Linked DNA regions of Homo sapiens: regions 1 and 2 are each linked to region 3. The links are contacts of gene promoters, found by promoter capture Hi-C in blood cells and fetal thymus (Javierre and others, 2016). All regions are on one chromosome and are shown on one strand. Each heading gives the region's core, a stretch centred on a gene start or on the middle of the fragment in contact. The rest is flanking DNA. Distances are from core to core; before and after follow the strand shown. Region 1 overlaps PIP5K1B (phosphatidylinositol-4-phosphate 5-kinase type 1 beta). Region 2 has its middle 55 kb from the start of PIP5K1B. Region 3 holds the start of PABIR1 (PP2A Aalpha (PPP2R1A) and B55A (PPP2R2A) interacting phosphatase regulator 1).

Evidence for each region. The method cuts DNA at HindIII sites, captures the fragments that hold promoters and counts their contacts. A CHiCAGO score of 5 or more calls a contact.
Region 1: a contact is called between a fragment that was not itself captured here and the fragment with the promoter of PABIR1 in region 3, in 5 of 17 cell types (neutrophils, naive CD4 T cells, total B cells and 2 more). The highest score is 8.0, in neutrophils.
Region 2: a fragment that was not itself captured here is called in contact with the fragment with the promoter of PABIR1 in region 3 in 2 of 17 cell types (naive B cells and total B cells); the score reaches 8.6 in naive B cells.

What each region holds. Positions count from the first base shown.
Region 1 is chr9:68,913,495-68,916,941 of GRCh38, reverse strand. The region is part of intron 8 of PIP5K1B (phosphatidylinositol-4-phosphate 5-kinase type 1 beta); the gene reads right to left. Among named protein-coding and RNA genes, the nearest start is that of PRKACG, 99 kb to the left of the region's middle. The HindIII fragment of the contact is 2,764 bases long and covers 1-2,676 here.
Region 2 is chr9:68,648,617-68,652,080 of GRCh38, reverse strand. No RefSeq gene overlaps it. Among named protein-coding and RNA genes, the nearest start is that of PIP5K1B, 55 kb to the left of the region's middle. The HindIII fragment of the contact is 5,031 bases long and covers 1-3,464 here.
Region 3 is chr9:68,777,680-68,781,331 of GRCh38, reverse strand. It overlaps PABIR1 (PP2A Aalpha (PPP2R1A) and B55A (PPP2R2A) interacting phosphatase regulator 1), which reads right to left and starts at 1,267. Exons shown (of 1, transcript NM_138333.5): 1 at 1-1,267. The coding sequence starts at 1,167. The coding sequence ends at 304. The region is part of intron 2 of PIP5K1B (phosphatidylinositol-4-phosphate 5-kinase type 1 beta); the gene reads right to left. RefSeq lists silencers at 1,007-1,246, 1,364-1,778 and an enhancer at 531-1,359. The HindIII fragment of the contact is 10,001 bases long and covers 1-3,652 here.

The DNA of each region.
Region 1 (3,447 bases), core at 45-2,544, 140 kb before region 3:
ATTCTGTTCTCATAAACTTCTTGGAAGTTAGTGGTCTTCTTCTCAAAACCTCTTTTTTTTTTTTATTTTTGAGACAGAGTCTCGCCCTGTCGCCCAGGCTGGAGTGCACTAGCGCAATCTCAGCTCACTGCAACCTCTGCCTCCCGGGTTCAAACGATTCTACTGCCTCAGCCTCCCAAGTAGCTGGTATTACAGGTGCCCGCCACCACACCCAGCTAATTTTTGTATTTTTAGTAGAGACAGGGTTTCACCATGTTGGCCAGGCTGGTCTCGAACCCATGACCCCATGATCTGCCTGCCTCGGCCTCCCAAAGTGCTGGGATTACAGGTGTGAGCCACCGCACCCAGCCCTCAAAGTCTGTCTTTCGAAGGTGCCGTTCAGTTCCCTGTAGCAAGTCCTTTAAAAATATAATCTCAACAAAGCATAGTACTTCATGTTTAATTATCCACTCAGCAGACAGTGGGGAGGCAAGGGAATTAAAAATAGTTGGATGCAGCCAGACAAAAGAGATGGCAATGCTCTGAAAAGAAAATGACAGGAGACAAAGGTCTGGGTCCGAGTCTGTTGAGATGGCTTCAGGGTATAGGTGGGGCTTTGACACTCAGGACCTTTTCAGACGGAAGAGCAGTGTTCAGGAAGAATGCCTGCAAACTGGGTGTTTTCCTCTATGATAAAGTTCTTTTTCTACTAGTCTGTATATGATTCTCCCCTACAACAGACTTCTTAATACCTGGTATTTCTCACACAAAGCTGCTCAGAAAAGCAAGACAACCCTGGTTGTCAGAACGGCTGTCTCTGAACCAACATGAGAAGCTGTTCCTATACTTTAGCTAGGAAACACCCTGAAGGATCATAGCCTATAGATAATTGTTTAGGGATAAAATAATCCAGAATTTCTTGTGCTTCTTGTTCTTGTTCAGCCCAACTGCCTTTTGATATTTATGATATAGTAAAGAGGGGATCAGGCCTGAAGATTCAGTTACCTGTGGCTGCCACTTCATGGATGCCACCTGAGAAAAGGCTTTGTGAAGTATGGCATATGGCCTTCAAGAAATAGGTTATTCTGTATTACAGGCATCTTTGCCATCAATGAGAACTGAGAGTGGGCTGCAAATGGGTATCAATTATTCCAGAGGGTTCACACTTCATCTTTCAAAAAGTCAAGTTCAGAAGGGAGTCAGGCAGGAGCTCAGAGTAGAATCTTATCACTTAAGAGGTTTGGGCTGTGGGATTTCCTAACCCAAGTGATCTAAGAATGGCTTGATAACAATGTGGAACCAGCCTTCCTAATGGAAGGAGGAGTGATGTCAAGTTGGAGGAGGAAGGGAGGGGTGATAGGAAATCCTTCTTACCACTGATCCAATGCTTGAGTACCAGACCCTTTGGCTGGTTCTCCATGGAGGTGTTATCAGTGCCTCACTGCACCATACAGTAGCACAGACCATGGGAGAAAGAAAGACTGTTTTATGTCAGAAGCACCAAGGGCCAGACTCTTAAAAGAAAACACTAACAGATATTAGATGCTTTCTTCAGACAGAAACAAGTGGTAGAAGGGCCTTAACCTTTCTAATTCTCAACCATACTGAAATGATGGCTTGGCAACAGTACCCCCCGAGACAGCTTCAACAACTCTTCACAATGAATGACCATTTGCAGATGCTAACTTCCCTACTCATATTTATCAGTGCTAGCGCTTCCTTTCTCGGAGAGACTTGGATAAGGACATGGGGGATGAGGGATGAAGAGCATGGACTCTGTGACCTTAGGCAGGTCACATCATCTCCTTGTGTCTCAGTTTCCTCATCTGTAAAATGCTGACACTATTACATATCATATAGGGTGCTTGTAAAAATTAAATGTGACAATGCAAGTCAAGTGCTTAGAAAAGTCTCTAGCATAAAGTGCTTAATTAATTGCTAGCTCTTATCACTATGATTATAATTCACGGTGACTCATCCCTCACACTAGCTCAAGAGACAACAGGTGTTCGCTTGAAGTAAACATTCCTAGAATTACACTTCTGAAAACAAATGTCACTAAATTAGCCAACAAAAATAGAACTGTATTGCTGGCCTGCTTACCAGTGTCATTCTGGCAAATCCTAATTCCTTTAGAAGCTCTGGGTTTGTGGATACCAAGGGGTATGGCCTGGATGGCTGACAACACAGGAATTTTCTCTTGTCTTTTTCTTTTTATTTATTTATTTATTTGTTTATTTTTTTTATTGAGATGGAGTCTTGCTCTGTTGCCCAGGCTGGAGTGCAGTGGTGCAATCTCGGCTCACTGCAAGCTCCACCTCCCGGGTTCACACCATTCTCCTGCCTCAGCCTCCCGAGTAGCTGGGACTACAGGCGCCTGCCACCACGCCTTGCTAATTTTTTGTATTTTTAGTAGAGACGGGGTTTCACCATGTTAGCCAGGAAGGTCTCAATCTCCCGACCTCGTGATCTGCCCGCCTCAGCCTCCCAAAGTGCTGGGATTACAGGCGTGAGCCACTGTGCCTGGCCAGGAATTTTCAATTGGCAAAAACACAGTCTTCTGCCCTGCACAGCCCAAAGCATCCTCCAAAGCAGTAAGCTGGCTTCAAAAGCAGGTCCTAAGAAGACTCTGACAATACTGTGGATGTTCCCAAAAGGCACCCAGAATCATTTACTCAAGTTAGGAGTGGTCAAGCTTAAAAACATTCCGGACACCATGATTTTCCTCCACAGAGTATCCATGAATGAATTCTGCTTGTTAAAAACCTTTGTTTTTTTTAAAAAAATGCTTTTTTTATATTGTCATGCAATATTCAACCTCTGCAAAGCATTTTCCTCAGCAAAGCATCCATGAATTAATTGTTAAGAAGATTTTTTTAAAAATGAAATACTTTTTCTTATATTTTTCCTGCAATATTCAACCTGAACCATGTGTTTTGTACTTGCAGTCTTTTTTCCCGGCCCATGAACAGGCCTAAGAGAACTGTGCAATTTTACAGGTGAGACAAAGTCAGGCTGTGTGGTCCAAACTGAACTATTGGATAAAGTAAGACACTATCCTGATCCTGTAAGGGGTCCGATTTTTTTTTTTAAAGAATAAATTCCAAGAGAGAATTAACTTTTGAAAAAGTGATAAAAAATATTAAAAAGAGCTTCATCTCCTCTGTACTCTTCTTTTGGATTGCCAGCATCTGGGAAGGGTGCTGAGTTGTCCTCGTGAGGCCAAGACCCCTACTTTCAGTGTGGAAGGCTTAAAAAAAGAAATTCTATCCCCATATGTGGAAAGCTGGCCATTGCAGTTAGAGTTTGGGTTGGGAAAAATCACCATCGATTAAGAAATCTGAAGGAACAAAAAGAGAAATGTATATGCATATATTTTAAAACAAATTAAAAGGCTTCTGTAATGAGAAACTCTGGGAACAGATTTTAGTCACGTACTTTTAAGATTTGCATCAATTAGGAACAAAA
Region 2 (3,464 bases), core at 491-2,990, 130 kb after region 3:
GAGTAATGTAAGAAACATCACAGAATGAAGTTTTACAAATTTTGTTGTCACCAGCATATTATATTGCAAATAAGCATATATGATTGGAAGAATTTTGATAAAGTTATAGTGTTTTAAATATGCACCTGTAATGTTTAAAAGTTGTCCATCTATATGGTCCAGTTTCAAAGCAGTCTGTCTATCAAAGAAACCCAATTAGGTATCCAAAAAGTCATTGAAGAACTGAAGATATTTATTGAGAACACATACGAATACGTACCTCTCAGAGTTCCTCCTTTATCTTTCACTCACTTTCAATATACATTGCATCAACCCCCATATTTCTTTTTTCATCACTCCCCAAACCCCTCCCACAGCCCTAACCCAAGTTTCTCTCCTTTTCTTCAGGTTCTTAAATATTATATTTGCTGCATGACCAAAGGTCAAAGTTGCATCTATTTTTAGGTGATGAAATGATGACTATTGACTAACATTAGTAATCACTTTCTCCAACATTTCTGAAAAGGTTTCTATCTACTTTGTCATATTGCTTTGAAAATTAGTCCTTGAAAACCATAAAAAACATACTGAAGCCCTAAATAGAATGTTGCATTGTACAAACTCCTTCATAACCATGAGTCATTCCTCACAACAGTCCTGTGGGGTACGCCACATTCTTAATCATATTTCACAAATGGAGACAGTGAGGTAAAGAGAAAGCTGTGGCATAATGGGATCAACACAGATAAAGTGTACTGAGGGCCTCACATGAAATTCAAATAGTGTAGCTCCCATTTTGTAGATAAGAATCCTACTACAATGGGGATACACTTCTCACTCCATAATAGCAACCATCAGAGGCAAGAGGGATTATCATGGTAGCTTCAGTTCTCATCCCTCCATCTTTCTTAATAATTTTGCAGCATAAAAGTCCAACATGGTAGACCATCTGGCAAACTGGGACCTTCCTTAGATGGGGAAAGGAGAAGAAATGGGACAGTGGGGCCAGCATCCTCTTTGGTGTAAGACCTAGAAACACTTACATGCCTGATAATTTTCCCCCGACAGATTCACATGCACATATCTGAAAAGTATACCCACATGTTTGTAGTAAGAGCTGCATGAAGTTTTCTTTTTCTCCTCCTTTGAGAGACAGAGTCTTGCTCTGTTGCCCAGGCTGGAGTGCAATGGTGAGATCTCAGCTCACTGCAACCTCTGCCTCCCAGGTTCAAGCAATTCTCCTGCCTCAGCTTCCCAAGTAGCTGGGACTACAGGTGTGCATCACCACACCCAGCTAATTTTTGTATTTTTCAGTAGAGACAGGATTTCACTATATGTTGGCCAGGCTGCTCTTGAACTTCTGACCTCAGGTAATCCACCTGCCTCGGCCTCCCAAAGTGCTGGGATTACAGGCGTGAGTCACCGTGCCTGGCCTTCATGAAGTTTTCCTTGTCATTTAAACTCTCTGGGTATCTGTTTCCTCATATGTAAAAGGACCATGAAAAGTAGTGTTTATTTCCTAGAGTGGTCTTGAGGGTTAAATGAGATCATACTTGTAAAGCATTTAGGAATAGAGCATAGTACATGGCAAGGGCTGGAGGAATATTGTAGTTATTATTACTTAGTAGCAGTGGTCATCATACATGTGGTAGATAGAATTACTGTAAAAATACACCTTATACTAGCTTATAGGCAATACGCAATTCACCTTAAGCAGAGGCCTGTGATTAATGTAAGTAAATATTTGGATAGTAATGTTGGCAATGGGAAATGTAATAAAATTTTACACTTTCCTCTGTAAGAACTTCCTTATTCAAAACTGTGATAAAACAATACTTTTTGCCTATCTATTGAAACACCAGTATTATCATCTTTCTACCTAATTTAGTAACAACCAGCTTGTATCGAGTATTTACAATGCACTGGATACTCTGCTAAAAACTTAATAGTTTTACCTTCTTTAACTACAACAGTAACTGCAAAAGATAGGGGTTATTATAATTACCTTCAGTTTTTAGGTGAGGAGAGTGAGGCTTCAGAAAATTTCCTTAACAAGAATGATGAGGACATTTTTCAGCTGGGCGCGGTGGCTCATGCCTGTAATCCCAGCACTTTGGGAGGCCGAAGGGGACAGATCATCTGAGATTGGGAGTTTGAGACCAGCCTGACCAACATGGAAAAACCCTGTTTCTACTAAAAATACAAAATTAGCCAGGCATGGTGGCAGGCACCTGTAATCCCAGCTATTCAGGAGGCTGAGGCAAGAGAACTGCTTGAATCTGGGAGGCAGAAGTTGTGGTGAGTCGAGATTGTGCCATTGCACTCCAGCCTGGGCAACAAGAGCAAAACTCTGTTTAAAAAAAAAAAAAAAAAAAAAAGAATGAGGACATTTTTCTTTCTTTGTGTCTCTCTATTATCTATCCTAAAGATTTGTTGAATGGATGAAATGATAGTTAAACCTTACCAGTCTTTATTTTGGCCCTTAACCTTACATCCAAAACAGATTTCAAAATCAATTATGAAAACAGGCACAATCATATTTTAGGAATAAAACAATTTCCCCAAGCCATTTTAGGAAGAAAATGAGGATGAAAAGGTAAAACAACACAAGCATCTTGGTGGGACACAGCTGGGAGATACGCAGATTTTATGATTGGAAAGGGTTTCACAGGAGGGTGGATGGCTACGATCACAGAAGAAATCATCTCACCTTCCAAATCATCAGTAGGGATAAAGTGGAGCTGGAGATGCCATCCTGCTTTCTTCATGCTCTTTGTATTTCGAGGACTAGTGCTTTTTGGGCTGAGCTATTTGAGCTGCTGAGACAGAAACTGAAATGCAGGCTACCCATCAGCACACACAGCTGCTGCTATCATCCATAGTCTTGAGAGATGGGCAGGTTCAGAGGTCTGGGCAGGCCACACAACAACCAGGGCTTACCCACTAAGGTTAGATGACTTCTCTTCCTCATTACCCATAGGGTAATATGCAGTGGCTCAGTGGCTCTCAGGATAGTCACAACTCTACTGTGTTGCCCTTGGTAAGCTGGAAATTATACCCTTGTTGACATGCTCTGCAGGCTGCTGTTAAAAATGCCAAACAGCAAATTTATCCACTGCTAGGTTCTTAAAGAAACAGATTCTCTTTTCTTGAGGAGCCAATAAAACAGAGGTTCTCAAAGTGTGCCTGAACCAACAGCATTGACATCACCTGGGATCTTGTTAGAAATGCAAATCCTTTGACCCTATCCCAGACCTTCTGAATCAGAAACTCTAGGCCTCCTGAATCAGAGACCAGCAATCTGTGCTTTAACAAGACTTCCAGGTGATTCTGATGCATGCTTAAATTTCAGAACCACTTTGCTAAGGGATTAAGGTCAGGAGAATCAAATTGAATACAGAATACAATATCTGAGGGGCAAAGCAATGGTGATGTTGAATTTCTTTCCTAGCTGGTCTTTCCTTATTGCTTGTTGGAATATGTAT
Region 3 (3,652 bases), core at 18-2,517:
AGCTCTCAGTTATTTAAAAAAATCAAGGGATAACATATGTATTTAGACATATTAGCAGCGTAAAGATGTATGCTTCAACACACTTATTGGGGAAACGTCTGAAAATATTACTACACTGAATTCAAGGGTATCCAAAGGAACCTGACATAGAAGTTCTCTAGAATAACATCATTTCAGGGAATTTCAAAAAAGAAAAGGGGTCAAATAGGAAATAGCCTCAAATTAATTGACAAAGTTCAGTGTTTGCCCCAACTAGATTATTCTCTCTCTCCACTGCAAAAAGAAAGTCTCAGGATGAGTGAATCACTTAGACGAAAGTTCATCTAGTGGAATAAATGGAGAAGCCGCTTGGGCAGGTGACACAGGAGAGTCGGTGGTAGTGCTGACTTTCGCTGGTGAGTTACAAGAAGATCCGGCACTGCTGCTGTTTCCATCAAGGGTATCCGAAGATACACACACACCAGGATCTGACAGCTGTGCAACGTCAGAAGAAAGCATGTTGGTGATGCCCTGGAAAAATCTCTTTGGCTGATATTCAGTTTCCATTTCACATTTTCTTTTCAATGGTCCAAGAACACTTGGTCTAATGCAATTGATGGGGCTCTGGCTTCTCCGGGTGGTAAATCGGGTCGTTGGGCTGGGAATAGGGCTTGGAGGCAATCCGTTGCTACTTACAAAACTTTGCAAGGATGGCGAAAAACACTGCTTCCCAATTCCCCGAGTGGGTGACGGTGCTGGTGACACAGGAATGAAATCGATGCGCTTGGGGGAGGCGGATTTCTCCACGTCGTTGTCACTCAGGCTGAAACTTTCCTCCCAGGAGTGGCTTATCTGCATTGCGGTCTGCACCTCCCGTTCGTGGACCGTCTCTCGGTTGATCAAGTCCATGCCCTCTTCTTGTTTGATCTGGTGCAAGCGGCTGCTGTGCATGCGGACAGGGGAGGCCGGCAGCAGCAGGCCGTGGCGGCTCGGGAACGTTGTGCTGTTCCGCCTGGCGCTCGGCGCCTCGGCCTGGAACACCGGCGAAGTGTCACTGAGGCCGTGGATCAGGGGGGCGCTGTTAGACCTCCTGAGGCCCCCGCCGCCGCCGCTGCCACCGCCCTCCGCCGGGCTCCCGCCCGTACCCGGAGGCAGCTCCAGGTCTAGCTCCATCTTCTCCTGAGCCATGTCGGGGGCAGGGAGGCGGGGGAGGTGCTCAGTCAGGGACCTAGGATTCCCATTCCCCGCAGTCCAGGGCCGCCGCCGCTGCCGCCGCCACCGAGAATCTGTCAGCGGGCTGGCCCCTCTGCGCATGCGTAGCCCTTCGCGCAGGCGCTCGCGATGTCCGTACTCGCGGCGCCTGCTTAATGCGTAATATGTGCGCGGCAGTGGTAGGGGAGGGGCGAGGAGTGGTCGGGCCGCTAGTCCGTATATTCCTTCGGCAAATAGCTATTGAGCGCAAGCTCGCGTTGACGCATGTCAATAAGATTGTCATATTCTGGATTGCATACTCATAAAACAAAGCCCTGAAAGAGAGGCCCATGGTGATGTGGGGCTGTATGACGTGGAGTGGCGCTTGGCCTAATCAGGGAGGGCTTCCTCGAGGAAGGAACAATCTCCTGAAATCTGAAGAAGTGGGCGAAATGGGTGCGATGTAGAACTTTGCAGGAAGCGGGAAGCAACGGCTACCCAGCCAGTTGGCAGGCGGGAACCAGGAGGGGAGGAGAAAGTGTGGCCTGGAGTGGAGAGTGAGGGCTGGCCTGACGTGAGGTGGTGGACCAGACCACATTCTGGTCTTTATCTTGAGAACAATGAAAACTTAAAGGGTTTTCAAGCATGGGTGTAACAGCAACTGAAAAGCTCACTGGCCTGCAGTCTGGAGAATACATATTGGGAGATTAAAACCTTACAGAAAAAAGGCCAGAGAGGATGGTCATTTGCACTAAGGTGACAGTGTGGCAGTGGAGATGGAGAGAAAAGTAAATCTGAGAACTATTTAGGTTAGGGGAAGAAGCCAAAACAGAGGATGGTATTGCTATTGATTTACAGTCATAGTTCCAGCACAAGCATATGTGTGAAGTATGAAGGATTAAACCAGTAGGTCCTCACATTTTAAAAATGAAACCACAATTCTTGGCTCATGTAATTAATATAAAACCTTGATATCTCATTAAAAGTGAGTTTATTTGTTCATTTATTCAGTCAGTCAAGGTTTTTTTTTTTCAGCATACTTACTATGTGCCAAACACTGCTAGGAAATGGGCCCTAGTATGAACTTTTAATTCTTACTGAGGGGAAAATAGAGAAACGCAGGCTATTTTCAGATAGTGGTAAGCCTTAGGAAAAGTAAGATGGTGTGATGGAGCACTACTGATAGAAGTCAGGGGACAATTAGAGTTGAGATCTAAATGACAAGAAGCAGTAAGTCACGTGGACATCTGGGGAATGAGTATTCCAAGCAGAGAGAATAGCAAGTGCTAAGGCCGGAGGCAGCCATGAGTTTGATGAGTTAGCAGAAAAAGAAAAAAGGGCAGTGCCGCTGAAGCATAAGAGCGGGAGTGTTAGGAGAGGGTAAGAGTTGGATCTCATTCTGAATATGATGAAACGCCACTGGAGGGTTTTAAGCAGGGGACTGATATTATCTGGTTTATGTTTTAAATATCACTTAGGCTCTGTGGAAAACAGGCTGAAAGAAGACCAGAGTGGAGGCAGAAGGATGAATTCAGGACCTATGGCAACAGTACAGATAAGATTCTTGGACTAGGGTTGTAGCAGTGTCAATGGGGAGAAGCAGAGAGACTGAGGATATGTGTTGAGTTAGAACAAATAGGATTTGCAGATGGATTAAATTTAGATTGTGAAAGAAATAGATTATTCGAAGGGGACTCATAGCTTTTTTTATTTAAACTGGTGAGATGGTAGTATTATTTACTGAGAGAGGAAAATAGCACATTTAGAGTTGTAGAAATTAAGAGATCTGAAGCAGAAGAACACAAGGTGGAAAGAACCAACATTTTCTAAGTGCCTACTCCCTGCTAGGCACTTTAAACACTCCATAATCCCACTTAATCCTCACTGCATAGATATTGTTATACTCATTTTACGAAGGAACGATTGAGGTTCAAAAATTGCAAAAGGCACTACAGCCAGTACACGGAAGAACAAAGATCTGAACCAATTTGAATCAAGGACTCATTTCAAAAACCTGTATTGTTTTTTCTGAATTTCACATGGATTAAAGAGAGAATTTCGCATGAATTAGAGAAGGATGGCTAATTCTGAGACGAAACAAAGGTCTAAAACCAAAGTTGGGAAAGGCAGAAGGAGATGGATTTGGGAGACAAGGCAACAACAGAACCTAATAGCATGCTGTGCAGAGGATGAACAGGAGACACAAATGACTGAAGTTCAACTGTAAGTGGCTGAAAGAATGCTACAAATTATTCAATAAAAACAGGAGAGAGGAGGAAATGTCTACAAAAAAATTAATATTAGGTAAGTAGAAAAGAACATTAAATATAGAACTCAATTTATAATACCCACAGCATATTACTGTTAACTTCATATTACTACATTATTATCAATGTGGCTCAAATGTACCAGATATTGTTCGTCCATGTCTGGATAAACATAATAATTACCTTTACTAATAAAACACAAGGATGGTGATGAG